3 separate regions of the Homo sapiens genome follow, and all the other regions are linked to region 2. Evidence: promoter capture Hi-C in 16 types of primary human blood cells and fetal thymus (Javierre and others, 2016). All regions are on one chromosome and are shown on one strand. The core of a region is centred on a gene start or on the middle of the fragment in contact, and the rest is flanking DNA. Distances in the headings are between cores, read along the strand shown.

Evidence for each region. Contacts are between HindIII fragments. The CHiCAGO score rates a contact against its expected background, and 5 or more counts as called.
Region 1: a fragment that was not itself captured here is called in contact with the fragment with the promoter of SVOPL in region 2 in 1 of 17 cell types (endothelial precursors); the score reaches 5.1 in endothelial precursors.
Region 3: a contact is called between a fragment that was not itself captured here and the fragment with the promoter of SVOPL in region 2, in 1 of 17 cell types (endothelial precursors). The highest score is 6.0, in endothelial precursors.

What each region holds. Positions count from the first base shown.
Region 1 is chr7:138,215,673-138,218,823 of GRCh38, forward strand. It overlaps LOC124901754 (a long non-coding RNA gene), which reads right to left. Exons shown (of 2, transcript XR_007060555.1): 1 at 892-3,151; 2 at 1-50. Among named protein-coding and RNA genes, the nearest start is that of MIR4468, 93 kb to the left of the region's middle. The HindIII fragment of the contact is 158 bases long and covers 1,255-1,412 here.
Region 2 is chr7:138,699,475-138,702,731 of GRCh38, forward strand. SVOPL (SVOP like) reads right to left here and starts at 1,888. Exons shown (of 16, transcript NM_001139456.2): 1 at 1,704-1,888. It also overlaps the pseudogene UQCRFS1P2. The HindIII fragment of the contact is 672 bases long and covers 1,426-2,097 here.
Region 3 is chr7:138,290,172-138,293,068 of GRCh38, forward strand. No RefSeq gene overlaps it. Among named protein-coding and RNA genes, the nearest start is that of MIR4468, 170 kb to the left of the region's middle. The HindIII fragment of the contact is 1,466 bases long and covers 608-2,073 here.

The DNA.
Region 1 (3,151 bases), core at 84-2,583, 480 kb before region 2:
CAGTGCCAGCAGCTGCACAGATACTTCCATTCAGCCAATTCTATCATAACCTTTACAAGAGAATTTAAAGTCTTTGAAGTCTGTTGTGTAACTATAGCCTTTACAGTAGAATCTGCTGTACAGCCTATCACGAGGGATAAATTTCTAATCATTGTTTTTACTCCAAACCATGGAAAAAGGACCTAACAAATGATGCCCTTCTAGAAGAGTGAAGGCCTCCTGGCAATGTTCTCTTTAACCCATGATGTGGATTAAGAGGAATGAACCAATGTTCCATTTCTGACTGATTATGAGGTGACATGTACCATTGAAGTTTCTCACCTACAGGCCAGGTGTGGTGGCTCATGCCTGGAATCCCAGCATTTTGGGAGGCCGAGGCGGGTGGATCACAAGGTCAGGAGATCGAGACCATCCTGGCTAACACAGTGAAACCCCATCTCTACTAAAAATACAAAAATTAGCCGGGTGTTATGGCCGGTGCCTGTAGTCCCAGCAACTTGGGAGGCTGAGGTGGGAGGTGGAGCTTGCAGTGAGCCGAGATTGTGCCACTGCACTCCAGCCTGGGCAACAAAGCGAGACTCCATCTCAAAAAAAAAAAAAAAAACAAAAAACTTTCTCACCTACATCGGGCTTTCATCTTTTATCTACCAAAGTATAAGGTTATCCGTGTGTAAGGCTGGCTGCAAAATCCTTCACAAATAAAAGTATGCCGCATAAGTACACACAACAAACCTCTTTTCCATTTCTACTGTTCATAGAGGCATAAACAAGGAAAAAATATTCAAAGAGTCTCATGATAGTGGAGAAGTTTTGATCCATGATGTTGGGACAAGTTGTTCACATCAAGGATGCCATCTTTTTCTGGGGAGAAACTTCCCTGGTTAGCTTTACCTTAAGGGTTCCAATGGGTGTACAGTTCCAAGAGTGTGGAGGGACCCTTTTCATCTGTGAGATTACGAACTCCAAGTTCAAGGTCCCGAAGTTTTGCTGTAGCGTGGATGGCAAGGACAGTCTTTCTCTGATGTTCTCAGAAGATCCAATCTTCCGGTTCTAGACTGTGAAGGGGTTGATTTTCCTCACTCAGTGAACCATAAAAAGCTTTCTTTACCTGGTGAAAATACACTGTAGCATAATAATCTACGGTTACAACATCAACCCTCTTGCATGGGAACGCTTTTATACAGCCAGAAAACGTGCATTGAAAATGACAATTGAAATGTTTAAGTGACCCATCAGGTAGCCAAACGTACCTGAAGCTTTGATTGTCTTCCCAGGAATATGGATTTGAGAAACCAAATATTGGTTATAAAATACTTTAGCAATTTATAAGTCAGCACTCCAGTATAAATTTAATTTGGATCATTTTATCTCTTCCATGATGAGTCATAGAATGCATAACCTTTAATAACAAAAGCTTTAAGGACTCAGGAAGGACAAGGTGGCTATCCTAGTTCTCCATGAGCCTATGCTTAACACTGGACTTATGACCTCTTGAATACCAGTTGTTTCTCCAACTTACGGGCATAGTACTGATAACTAATGGGTTATAATAGGTAATTTGACTTAAGACCATGGAGTTCAAATGACTTTAAATAATGGTAGTTAAAAACACTATTGACAAGGAAATTTGGTTATTTCTGTGGTCTACAGTAACTTAACGTAATAATTAAGATTGATAGAATATACTCAGAATATACTAGAATTTTAGGACTCCCACAAAAATCATTCAGTCGACTGAGAAGAAAAAAACCTTCTTCCAGAAAAACAAGATCCAAGAAGAGAAAAAAAACACAACATAAAGGCCTTTTAAATGTACCTATAGTTAGAATCCACTTTTAATTAAACTGACTTAACCACAGCATTCTTTAAAAAAAAAAATCCTTTAAAATCTCATATTACCCAATTTTAGCCACATGAAGTGGCCAATATTTCTGGCTTTTGAACGTTACCAAAGGTAACCTCCCAGATGCTCAGAGAAGAAAAATTCAAGATGGTTCACAGAGGGGAAAAGAACCAACAAATGGTAAAGGTCACACAGATATCAAACCAGAAAGGAATCATTTCCCAAGCCAGGACTCAACACAGGCCACCACTGTAAAATGGCAAAACCCCAGCTGCTGAGCCACAGCATTGGACAGTCTACACTGTTCCTTTCAGAAGGAGTCTAGAGTAGCTCATTTTGAGCTTGCAAAGGCTTCCAACTACTTAAGACAACTTTTAGAGCTAACTATGACCTCCTAGGGACATAAAACAAGATGGAGACCTCATCCAGTTGTTTTGTTTGTTTCAGGGACCTGCAGCAAAGTTTGTTACTGACCAGGCTACTGGGTTGTCACGAGCAGTGAGCTTATGGGGTCCTAAGCCCATGTTCTATCCTAAGGTACACCTCTTCATGACAGTACAACAGAGAAAGAAAAATTCATAGCACAAAATAACCCAGATTTGCTACAGCTTATGAGTAGCCTCAGAATTTCTTTTCACATTAACCAAAACTTTACAAAGGAGATAAACAGTGATTTTTACCATTCATTCGATTGGTTTGCACAGAGAGAGGTCAGAAGTCCAACTGGTAAGAAATTCTTACCCTTTTGCTGGCATGTCAGATTTCTGGGTTCTCCTTCCCTAGGCAGCCCTAGCAACCCTACTCAACTGTAGGCAAAAAAATAAATAAATAAATAAATTGCCATGAGTTAAGAACATTCACAAATAGTTTACAAATTTTGGAGAAATTAGGCAGACAGAGAGAAAAATGACTCAAATTCTATTTATGAAAGTATACTCAATACATTCAAAGTATCAGGGAGCCTAATATCCAAAAAGTCAGTTTAAGTTTTAAAAGCTGGTGCACCCCATCAATTCCTGTGGGCCTGACAAAGGTAGTCTAGGAATTCCAGATTAATGGAACAAATGATGACTTGCTAGAAAGGCATAGGAAATGAAATAACTATTCACAGAACCAAATAAAAGTTTTCCACTAGAAACTAAAAAAAAAATCATGGTTTTATATATATGCATACACAAGCAAAGCCCAGAGGAGAATAAACAGCAAATTAATAAAAATTAGAAGCAAAAACACAGAAACAGGAAACCAACCCTAAATTTTTTCTACCCAATCTACCCTGGAGGCTACATTGTTACCCAGGGCCCCCAA
Region 2 (3,257 bases), core at 638-3,137:
AGGTTGATTTTATTTCATGGGTAAACTTGAGTGGTGTTGGGAAATTGTGACCTCAGTGTGCTACTTTCCTACTGGAAAATAAGACCTCAAAACCTCTCCAAACTAGTCACTTCATCTTACTTATGAGAGGCACGACAAAATGGATACTTTTCACCAAAATTCTCCTGTGTTCTACATTGCAAAATCAATATATTTTAGAGGAAGAAGAAGCTTTCAAACTTCAGTTCTTCCAAAGGCATAGTTGGTGCAGGGGGTGGGGTGAGGGTGGAAAAAAAGGGCTGGTGGTGAGGTGTGGCTCCGAGGAGCAAGTCAGCCCTCGCCCCGCCACCGGAACAGCGTTCAGTGCCCGTCACTTGTAACACTGGTCTTCCCAATGCATAGCCCTTGAAGATAATCAGGGCCGGGTGGGTCCCCGGTGTCAGGGGAATTTGCCAAGAGGGGGAAGAAACAAACGTACAGGTTTACCTGCAACAGAGAAAGTCCTCATTCCCACCCTATTAGGATACAGAGTTTTCAACAACAGGATTCCTTTGGTGGAGCAAGTTGCAGGGCACAGGGCTGTTGGCAGGAGATTATCAGGATTGTAGCGTTCACATCTGTACCTTGGAAAGGGGCTTACTCTCCAAGTCATTAAAAGGACACTCAAACACAAACTCAAAGTTAGTTAGCATATATATGAAATGTATTTTCTTGGTAGTCTCTAGAGTTTCAGCCAAAAGCTACATGAAGAAAGAAGAGAACAACATGTTTGAGAGATGGAGATGAGGAACATTATTGAGAGATAGAGCTTGCAATCTTAACTCAGCAATGGAATGCTGGAAAGGCTGAATTGACATACTCTGTTCTTTGGTTCCGTATGTCTTTTTTTTTTTTTTTTTTTTTGAGACAGAGTCTTACTCTGTTGCCCAGGCTGGAGTGCCGTGGTGTGATCTTGGCTCACTGCAACCTCTGCCTCCCGGGTTCAAGCGATTCTTCTGCCTCAGCCTCCTGAGTACCTGGGATTACAGGCACCCACCACCATGCATGGCTAATTTTTTTGTATTTTTAGTAGAGACGGGGTTTCACCATCTTGGTCAGGCTGGTCTTGAACTCCTGACCTTGTGATCCACCCACCTCAGCCTCCCAAAGTGCTGGGATTACAGGCGTGAGCCACCGCACCCGGCTGGTTTCCTGTGTCATTCTAAATCCTTTCTAACCCAGTAAGAGGATGGATGGATGGATGGATGGATGGATGGATGGATGGCAGATGGATGATCAGTTAGACCAACTCAGGAAAATAGGGAATAACATGGAAAAGAATGCTTCGCGTCCCTCACTATAAGTTCCTAAAAAGCTACAATGGGAAAGTAATCCATGACCTACCTTCACAAAACCTGGTGAGAAACTGATAGATTGGGGATTTTCCCTGAACTCAGATGGAGTTCAAGCTTCATTAAAACAAATTCTAAAGGACTGATTGACATTTTATTCTATTGTATTTTGTTATACTGATTGTTTTTTAACCAGAAATAATTGGGCCACAGTAGATCTTTTTTAAACTGAGTTTTGTGTGTGATGTGTGATGTAATTTGTTTTGCAATATCCAAGGAAATTTTCATGCTCCATTTGCCTTCGGCCACAAACTAACAGTCAATGCCCCACCCCACCCTCTACAGCAGCAGGAAAAAATAAGTCCAGATCAATGTTGCCCACAAATTTCTCACCTCTGTATATTCCTTGGACAGTCTTCCAATTTCAGGCTCTTTTGCTCCCCTCACCGTGGCCAAGTCTTAGACGGAAATTGGAGCACAGATGGCTTCTCAGGGGTGGCCAGACTTGTGTTCCCAAGACGCCTGGCTCCCTGGTCTTATCCTCTCCTTTCAGGTCGGGTCTCAGATCAGGATTCTTTAAGGGCCAACTTCGCATTCTGGGCAAGTGAATGACACCTAGGGCACACCCTCTTCTCAGCAGCCTGCACTTGATCTCCTTTTAAAGGGGAAATTACATTTCTTGTTAAGACTGAAAGAGGCTGCCGAACTTTGGAGGAAATTACTATGTTGTTCTCAGGACAGCTGGAAGAATTTCTGAAAGAGAAGACCTAGGCAAGGGGCAGAGGGAAGCTTTGCCCTTGCAAACATTTGCTCACAGCCATTGCTTAGAATTAAGGAGCAGGTTCATGCCCATCCTGTCAGCCATATCCTGCAGGGTGGCAGGCATGCTGTAGCCCCTGGTATAGGCCATGGTGCCTGCCACCCTGAAGCTGCCTGTGCTGTACAAGAGCAGCCTTTGCTATGCCAGGAGTCACTGAGTGGCCAGGCCATGAGCCTGTCTTGGGTCAACTCTGTGGGCCTCAATGTCCCTGCTTCTGTTCGTTATTCCCATACAGACATCAATGTGCCTGACTTCCCTGATTACTGTTGCATTGAGATTTTTGATGGGACAAAGTCTTCAAAAGAGGATGGCGAGGCTAGGAAAGGGTTCTCCTATTTGGTAACTGCAACAACTGCTGTGGGTGTCACATATGCTGCCAAGAATGTCATCTCCCAGTTTGTTTCCAGCATCAGTGCTTCTGCTGATGAGTCGGCCGTGTCGAAAATTGCAATCAAGTTATTTGATATTCCAGAAGGCAAGAACATGGCTTTCAAATGGAGAGGCAAATCCCTGTTTGTATGCCACAGAACCAAGAAGGAAATTGACCAAGAACCTGCAGTTGAAGAGTCCCAGCTGAGGGCCCATAGCATGATTTAAGGGCCAGGCACAGTGGCTCATGCCTGTAATTCCAGCACTTTGGAAGGCCGAGGTGGGCAGATCACTTGAGGTCAGGAGCTCAAGACCAGCCTGGCCAACATGGCGAAACCCCATCTCTACTAAAAATACAAAATTAGCCAGGCGTGGTGGCATGTGCCTGTAATCCCAGCTACTCGGGAGGCTGAGGCAGGAAAATCACTTGAACCTGGGAGGCAGAGGTTGCAGTGAGCCGAGATTGCACCATTGCACTCCAGCCTGGGCAACACAGTGAGAATCTGTCTCAAAAAAAAAAAAAAAAAAGAAGAAGAAGAAGAAGTAAAGGATGGGCCGGGAGTGGTGGCTCACACCTGTAATCCAAGCACTTTGGGAGGCCAAGGCGGGTGAATCACTTGAGGTCAGGAGTTCAAGACCAGCCTGGCAAACATGGTGAAACTCCGTCTCTACTAAAAATACAAAAATTAGTCAGGCGTGGTGGTCCATGCCTGTAATCCCAGCTACTCGGGAGAATGAGGCAGGAGAAGTGCTTGAAC
Region 3 (2,897 bases), core at 91-2,590, 410 kb before region 2:
ATGATCACATCATACTCCTGGGGCATTCTGAACTCCAAGCCTTTTCTATTCTATTTTTTCTGTTTATTTTTTGAGACTGAGTCTCTGAGTCTCGCTCTGTCACCCAGGCTGGAGGGCAGTGGTGCAATTTCAGCTCACTGCAACCTCTGCCTCCTGGGATCAAGTGATTCTCATGCCTTGGCCTACCAAGTAGCTGGGATTACAGGCGTGCACCACCATACTCGGCTAATTTTTGTGTTTTTAGTGGAGACAGGGTTTCTCCATGTTGCCCAGGCTGGACTCAAGCAATCCACTCACCTCAGCCTAGCTTTCTAGTGCATATAAAAGTTATGTTTACACTATACTGAAGTCTCCTAAGTGTGTAATAGCATTATGTCTAAAAAAAAAAAAAAGTACATATTTTAATTTTACTTTTTTTTTGAGATGGGGTCTCACTCTATGGCTGAGGCTGGAGTGCAGTGGCACAATCTCGGTTCACTACAACCTCTGCCTCTCAGGCTCACGTGATCTTACAGGGACATCACCATGCCCGGCTAATTTTTTGTATTTTTTGTAGAGATAGGGTTTCACCATGTTGCCAGGGCTGGTCTATAACTCCTGGCCTCAAAGCTTGATTTTGGCTCACTGCAGCTGAGCAATCCTCCCACCTCAGCCTCCTGAGTAGCTGGGATTACAAGTGCACATTACCACACCTGGCTAATTTTTGTACTTTTTGTAGGCATAGGGTTTTGTCATGTTACCCAGGCTGGCTTTGAATTCCTGAGCTCAAGCAATCCATCCTCCTTAGCCTCCCAAAGTACCGGGATTGCAAACATGAGCCACCATGCCCAACCTAAAAATGCTTTATTACTAAAGAATGCTAACTATCATCTAAACCTTCAGCCTGTCTTAACCTTTTTGTTGGTGGAGGGTCTTGCCTTGATGTTGATGGCTGCTGACTGATCAGGGTGGTGGTTGCTGAAGGTTGTGGTGGCTATGGCAATTCCTTAAAATAAGACAACAATGAAGTTTGCAGCATCAGTTGACTTCCTTTCACAAAAATCTTCTCTGTAATATGCAGTGATATTTGATAACATTTTATCCACAGTAGAACTTCCTTCAAAATTGGAGGCATTCCTCTCATATTCTGCCATTGCTTTATCAACTAGGGTGATGTAATATTCTAAATCCTTTGATGTCATTTCAACAACGTTCACAGCATCTTCACCAAGAGTAGGTTCCATCTCAAGACACTACTTTTTTTACTTATCCGTAAGAACCAATTCCTTATCCTTTCAAGTCTGATCACGAGACTGCAGCAAATCAGTCACATCTTCAGGCTCCACTTCTAATTTAATTCTTTTACTATTTCCAACCTCATCTACACTGACATACTCCACAGAAGTCTTGAACCTCCCAGAGTCATCTGTAAGGGTTGGCATCAACTTCTTCCTGTTACTATTGATATTCTGATCTCCTCTCATGAATCACAAATGTTATTAATGCCATCTAGAATGGTGAATTCTTTCCAGAAGGTTTTCAATTTACTTTGCCCAGATCCATCAGAGGAATCACTATCTATGACACCTATAGCCTTAACTATTTCTTAAATAGTAAGACTTAAAAGCCTCAAAACAGGCCAGGCACATGGCTCACACCTGTAATACCACCACTTGGGGAGTCTGAGACAGGCAGATCACTTGAGGTCAGGAGTTTGAGACCAGCCTAGCCAACATTGTGAAACCCTGTCTCTATTAAAAATACAAAAATTACCCTGGCATGGTGGCGCATGCCTCTAATCCTAGCTACTCTGCAGGCTGAGGCAGGCGAATCACTTGAACTGGGGAGATGGAGGTTGCAGTGAGTCAAGATCGCGCCACTGCACTCCAGTCTGCGCAACAGAGTGAGTCTCCATCTCAAAAAAAACCCAAAAAACAAAACAAACAAACAAAACAACAACAGAATAACTCCTCGATCCTTGGTCTACAGAATGAATATTGTGTTGCAGGCATAAAAACATAAATCTTGTACATCTCCATCAGAGCTCTTGGGTGACTAGGTACACTGTCAATGAGCAGTCAGATTTTGAAAGGAAGCTTTTATTTTCTGAGTGGTAGGTTTCAATCGTGGACTTAAAATAGTCAGTAAACCATGAGGTAAACAGGTGTGCAGTCGTCCAAGCTTTGTTATTTCATGTATAGAGCACAGGCAGAGTAGATTTAGCATAAATCTTAAGGGCCATAGCATTTTCAGAACGGTCGATGAGCACTGACTTCAACTTAAAGTCACTAGCTATATTAGTCCCTAACAAGAAAGCAAGCCTCTCCTTTGAAGCTTTGAAGCCAGGCATTGACTTCTCCCCTCTAGCTATGAAAGTCCTAGCTGGCATCTTCTTCCAATAGAAGGCTGTGCTTTCTACCTTGAATGTCTGTTGTTTAGTGTAGCCACCTTCATCAGATATCTTAGCTAGATCTTCTGGAAAACTTGCTGCAGCTTCTACATCAGCACCTGCTGCTTCGCCTTGCGCTTTTATTTTGTGAAGATTGGTGTCTTTTATTAAGCTTCATAAACCAACCTTGCTAGCTTCTAACTTTTCCCCAGCAGCTTCTTCATCTCTGTCAGCCTTCATGGGATTGAAGAGGGGTAGGGCCTTCTTCGGGATTAGGCTTTGGCTTAAGGGAATGTTGTGGCTGGTTTGATCTTGTATCCAGACCCCTCAGACTTTCTCCACATCAGCAATAAGGCTGCTATGCTTTCTAATCATTTATGTGTTCACTGGAGTAGAATTTTTAATTCCTTTCAATAACTTTCCCTCTACATTCATAACGTGGCTAAGTGTTTGGCACAAGAGGCCTAGCTTTCTGCCTGTCTCAGCTTTCAACATCCCTTCCTCACTAAGTTTAATCATTTCTAGCTTT